Linked DNA regions of Homo sapiens: region 1 is linked to region 2. Evidence: promoter capture Hi-C in 16 types of primary human blood cells and fetal thymus (Javierre and others, 2016). All regions are on one chromosome and are shown on one strand. Each heading gives the region's core, a stretch centred on a gene start or on the middle of the fragment in contact. The rest is flanking DNA. Distances are from core to core; before and after follow the strand shown. Region 1 overlaps MIR646HG (MIR646 host gene). Region 2 holds the start of LINC02910 (long intergenic non-protein coding RNA 2910).

Region 1 (2,848 bases), core at 297-2,796, 180 kb before region 2:
TGGGTAGAAGCTGGAGGCTGGAGGCTGGAGTCAAGAACTGGCAGCCCCCGGGAACTGGTGGAGATAGGGGGAGGGCATCAGGTTTCTTATCTGTTCTTGAGATAATTTTGTCAAGAACTCAAGAGGCGGGGTGACCCCATCTGATATTTAGGTTCCCACTCCCTGCTGAGCAGAACCCATCATGCCAGTCCACTCAGGTTGGGCTGTTCTTGGGTAGTGTCCATCCCAGATCTCATAGGCACTCCTCACCAGGCACACAAGATACCCACGCTGTTCCTTACACCTGGTCTTTTAGGAAGTGCTCTACCAGCTGCAAGACAATGGCTATGAGGGGCACCATGACCATTTTATTTGGTACAAATGCACCTGGACAGCATGCAATGAAAAGAAACAGAGTTCCTGCTGCAGTGCTTGAGGAGCAGAGCTGAGCATGATAGAATTTCCCCAGAGCTAAAGCTTTCATTTTTCCTGTTCATCCGAACTTGAGTTGAAGATTTACCAAGAAAGAAGACACTTACCAAGGTTAAAATGACTTGGTAAGTTAAAATATTCATTCAGTATTCTGAGCCCTTTCATATGACTCCTAATCTTCACAATAATCCTGTAATATACCAACTTGATTTTGTAATTGAATTTATCAAAATTTATAAATTTTATAAAATAAGGCCCAAAAAGAATGACTGCCTAGCTCAAGCTATATATCTTATGGTGGAAGACCCAGGGTTTGAACCCAAAGAGCCTGAATTTTAAGTACTTTCTAAAGCACCACAAAAATGCATTAATTTTGGATAGTTTCTAAAACTAACTTCAGTGGATTCATGTCTATTTAAGTTACAACTGTGTATATAATTGCATAAACTTTCCAACACAAATAAATCTAAGCATGCCAGGCTTTGCAGGGAAACATCCAGCCTTGAAGAAAGCATATTTCATTATACAAGTAGTCATACTGTAAGTGGTATGAGGAAAGCAGAAAGACCATCTCAGTCAACACTCTGCAACCGGAATTCCCCTGACATCTCTGTACTAAACCAGAAATTCTCTAAAGCCATAAATGAGTTAACTAAACTACAGATCAAGTATCTAAATACAAAAGCATTAGAACATCAGAGAGCAATACCATACAGGTAGATATCTGCTTACTTATTCCTGATGCTGTGACAGCATTTATGTCTATTTTTCATTGAAGGAGCTTTTTTCATAGATAACTCAATACAAATTATTTGAAAGAAAATGTATTTTGTTATTACTTGGAATAGAAAAAGGCAATCATGTTGGAATGGAATGCAGATAAAAAATGAGATCACATAATAAAAGATACAGAATTTGGCAATTTAAGCAGAGCCATTCAAAGGTAGGTGATTCATGAATAAGCTGAAAAAATGGTTTGACTAATGTTTTTGAACTACCTACTATGCACTGGGAAAATGCTATATTATCCTTCAGTTTAACTGATAATGCAATGCTATAATTTGTAAAGGAAAATATTTATTTTGTAGGAAAGTCCCTACAGAGGACATTGAAGTGGGAAGAGCTCACAGGTGCTAATTCTCCTGAGGCTGGCACACCTTTCTTTTCACCTATACCATCCAGGCAGAAGAGATGCTCCCTCTCTGAGTGCCCTCTGTGTTTGTGGGGAGGGGCATGTGCCAGAGTTCTGGCCAATGAGATGTTAAGTGAAGTCTTCTAGGTATTGGGTCCTGGGATAGAGATGGCTGGCACAGATCTTCCCTTATTCTTACTGCCTTGAATGTCAATATGATGTCTGGAACTGGAGCAGCCATTTTATTACCACGAGGAAGAGATTTGCAAAGATGTTGACTCTTATATTGTTGATCTACTAAACCAATGCCAAGAACTGACTATGTTCAGATTTCTTGTCATTTTAGAGAAATAAGCCTTTAATTATTTAAGATACATTGAGCACAGCTTTGTTTTTGTTGTTGTTGTTGTTTGTTTGTTTAGCCAAAACATTCTTAACTGTGTGTCCCTTGTATTATGTGAAGGGGATACAATGGATATTTATTCTTCTTTATACTGATAACTACAGATAAACAGAAGTTTAGGTGTTTTCTTAACACTTAAAGGTAACTATTCATGGCCATAAAAATGGACATATGTCTTCAAGATTACTAAGAAATGATTAAAGGCAATATAATCCATACAGCAAAGAAAAAAAGAGGCATAAATACAGAATACGGAAATAGAATGACAAGAAGAAGATCAAGTATATCATATCCATTGCAACAAAAATGTAAATGTGTTAAACTTTCTATCAAATGATAAAATATCTCCTACAGGTACATATATATCCAATTATATATGTCTAAAAGACACTCCAGCATAAAGTGATAAAGAAAAGTTAAAGATAAAAGGAATACTGACAGAAGTACTTATATAACTAGAATAATGCATCTTATTAGAGGTTACATGGGAAAATCCTGTCATCACCTTCTACATGGATGTAGGCATAGAAAGGCATCTGATAATATTCAACATTCTTTTCTGACACATTTTCCTAATAAACTCAAATCAGAAGAAAGTTGCTGTCATGGTAAAGACTATCTATCTTTAGGCAGTACCACTTGAAGCATACCATTATTGTCTATATAAAGGTAAGAATCCCCATAAGCTTTGTATTTGTCATTGTTCTATCAAAAGTAATTAAGCATCCTAAAATGATCTGTTAGAAAAATAGAGATGATGATTATTACTACCATACAGAAAAAAGTCTACCTGGAAAACAGAAGAGCTACTGAGATACGTAACAAGGGCTCATTAAATCACCTATTAATAAATAGAAAATCAATGCGTGTCTTTACCCACAATAACCAGTTAAAAAAATAAA
Region 2 (2,896 bases), core at 79-2,578:
AAGTCACACAGCTACAGAGTTGTGAAGCCGAGATTGGAACTCAAGCAATAAGGCACTTTGATGGCAGGCACCTTAATGGGGGGTGGGGGAACACCCTTTACCAACAACCATGCAAATGGCCCAGGTGCTCCTGTGACCCCTGATCCCAGGGGCTCCACCAGAGCACCAGAGAGAGAGGGATGTGGGAAGAGCAGAGGACAGAAGAGGACACGTGCATCTAACCACTCGGAGGACAGGAGAAGGCACCCTAACCTTCTGAGCTGCCATCTTCCAATCAGGAGGAGGGGAGCACTGGATACATAATCTCAAGGCTTTCCCTACAGTTCTCTCAACAGGACAGACAGGCAGGGGTGCACAGTGGTTAGAGCACAGGCTTTTTGGTCAGACAGAACTGGGTTAAAGATCAGACACGTCCACTCACTCTCAATGAGTCCATATCTGTAAGCCTAAGCTTCCGTCCTCACACATGTTGATAAAAGAAAAAGAAAAAAAAAGGCCAAGTGCAAAGCTTTTAGCATTGTTTCTGGTTCAGGGTATGGACTTAATACTGTTTTCTATCATTATAACCACACTAAAGGCTCTGAGAAGTCCTGCAGGAAGGAAAACTACTTGTCTTTATCTCAGCCATCCCCAAGCTAGCTGCCCACAGAGCCACCATGGAGCCCACAGCTCTGTCACCCCACAGGGCCCATGTGCCTGGCCCATTCATGTTCCCTCACACGGGAGCCTCAGGCCCCAGTGGAAACAGACTCAGGAGACAAACCCAGGCCTCCTGCTCCCAGCTCCCCACTCTGTCCTTCTGCTTCTACATCCAACTACCCCCAAAGCAGTTTCTACAATCCATAAACAAAAGAATTCAGAGACAATTCTCCAGGGCTCCCAAGACGACATATTTCATCTGTGGCTTCTACAGTGCTTATTTGTCAGTTTTACAGACCAGAGGCAATTAAGAGTCTAAGGCCGAGAAGGCTGTTTTTAATAATTCTGTCATTATTCTCAATTTTCAGCACCACCACACATGAAAAACCCATTTCCAATTCCCTTAAAGGTGTTAAATGGTTTTTGCACTGTGTTGCAAAAGTTTGCCGTCCGCCAAACTGCTACAAAGTGGGCTTGTAGCGTCCGGTCCTGAGCTGTGGGAACGACTTGGTCGGGGCTGATCCGCTGGAGCCCAGCTCTTTCCCCAAGCGTTCAATTCCCAGCACATGCCGCGTGGGTCACTGTGGATTTCAGGGTGGACTCACCGCGCTGCTGGGTGTTGCAGTCCACGCGATTTCACAAGACTCCATGCAGGACACCTCCACCCGGCCCAGGCTCAGGCAGGATATGAACAGGAAACCACTGTTTCCTGCCGATCAACACCCAGGAACTGATGAAGTAACCCAGTGCCCAGCCCCTCTGACAGCCACAGAGCCAAGAAGAGGGAAGTGAGGTGGCATCCAAGGCAGCCCCTGAAAGAACTAAGCAAGGCAAGTTCAAGGGGTTCAGGGCTCTGCAGCAGCTGATGGGGAGCAGGGAGGAGCATTCCGTTTTCAGGGCATTGAAAGTCCTTGAAAGGAGAAAATTTTATAAGGAATGACAAGGCCTGGATGCAGAAGGTGGGAGACCCCTGCCCTTGATAACCGTCATAGTTACCAATGACAACTATGATAAAGAGATGACTTTCTGTGGCTCCCACTTGCTGCCCTCTGTGGTTCCAGGCACATCACAGAGAACTCTTCATTTTCATGAGGCCCCATAAGGACATCCCTATTACTATGATCCTTATCAATATCCTGATGTTACAAATGAGGGAACCAGGACACAGAGACGCTGAGGAACTTGTCTGAAGTTACATGGTGGAGACATAGCCTGGGACGCAGCAGTGAGAGGGACAGACGAGCCCTGCCCCTGTGCACCAAGCCATCTGCTGGGGACGCAGAAATCAAACAGCTCGTGGCTGCCCTTGTGCCCAGCGCTGTGGGCATGAGCGAGCTGCTTTGAAGAGACAGCGTGGTGACCTGCCCTGCTGGCCCAGGCAGCATCACACGGCAAGAAGGCGGGCTTTGAAGGGTTTTAAACAGAGTCGTGTTCCCACGTCTGCAGTGAGAGGGCTGCAAGCCTTTGTGTTTTTCACACGGTGTTACACAGCGTTGGGGTCCACGGACCTGCCTCGGAAGCTGCTCATGGGCAAATGGACGACCACGGGTGGGGAAGGAAATTTCCCCCAAACACACACATGCTTCACCCAGAGCAGCCAAGCTGTTTGTGTGTTTGTGTGTATTCACGTGTGTATGTGTGTGTGTGTGTCTTATGCCTAATGGTTCATTGAGTTTAAGGATCTCTCAGCTCCCTTGCAGCACAAATGTTTCATAATTTGGTGGTTAGCGCGCAGTGACCAGGCAATACAGGTTCATCAAAATGCACCAATGAGACAGAGACAGGAGAGGATGTTTTGGCAGCAGACAGACATCCAGGAGGCCTAGCACACCCCCATCCCCCGGCCCCAACCTCAGAGAGATAATCAGGGGAGCAAAGGGCATTAGTATGAAACGACCAAAGAGACTTAGCGAGCAACGTCAGACTCCCTGCAACACGCGTGCTGATGGGACAGAGGGGGAGTTATTTTTATACTTCAGAAATAACCAAGCATTCTGCATGCCCAAAGCCAGTTTGGGTTTTAAATACCTTTCATAATTTTTCTGACTATGGAGGTAATACATCCTCAGGGCATAAAATTTAGAAATTATAGAAGAGTATTTTTAAAAATCCAACCATTGAGCAATAACCATTATAAAAATCTTACTGTTTTCCTTTCTTGTCATTTATCTAGGCTCATACAGATATTTGGGGCTTTTTTCACAAAACTAGGAAAATGTTAAAATATATATTCTAATATTGTCTCGATTTTATTATT

What was found. Contacts are between HindIII fragments. The CHiCAGO score rates a contact against its expected background, and 5 or more counts as called.
Region 1: a fragment that was not itself captured here is called in contact with the fragment with the promoter of LINC02910 in region 2 in 1 of 17 cell types (neutrophils); the score reaches 6.2 in neutrophils.

The regions. Positions count from the first base shown.
Region 1 is chr20:60,234,938-60,237,785 of GRCh38, reverse strand. All of the region lies in intron 3 of MIR646HG (MIR646 host gene), which reads right to left. Among named protein-coding and RNA genes, the nearest start is that of MIR646, 72 kb to the left of the region's middle. The HindIII fragment of the contact is 2,176 bases long and covers 459-2,634 here.
Region 2 is chr20:60,054,357-60,057,252 of GRCh38, reverse strand. It overlaps LINC02910 (long intergenic non-protein coding RNA 2910), which reads right to left and starts at 1,328. Exons shown (of 4, transcript NR_161293.1): 1 at 1,245-1,328. The HindIII fragment of the contact is 13,245 bases long and covers 511-2,896 here.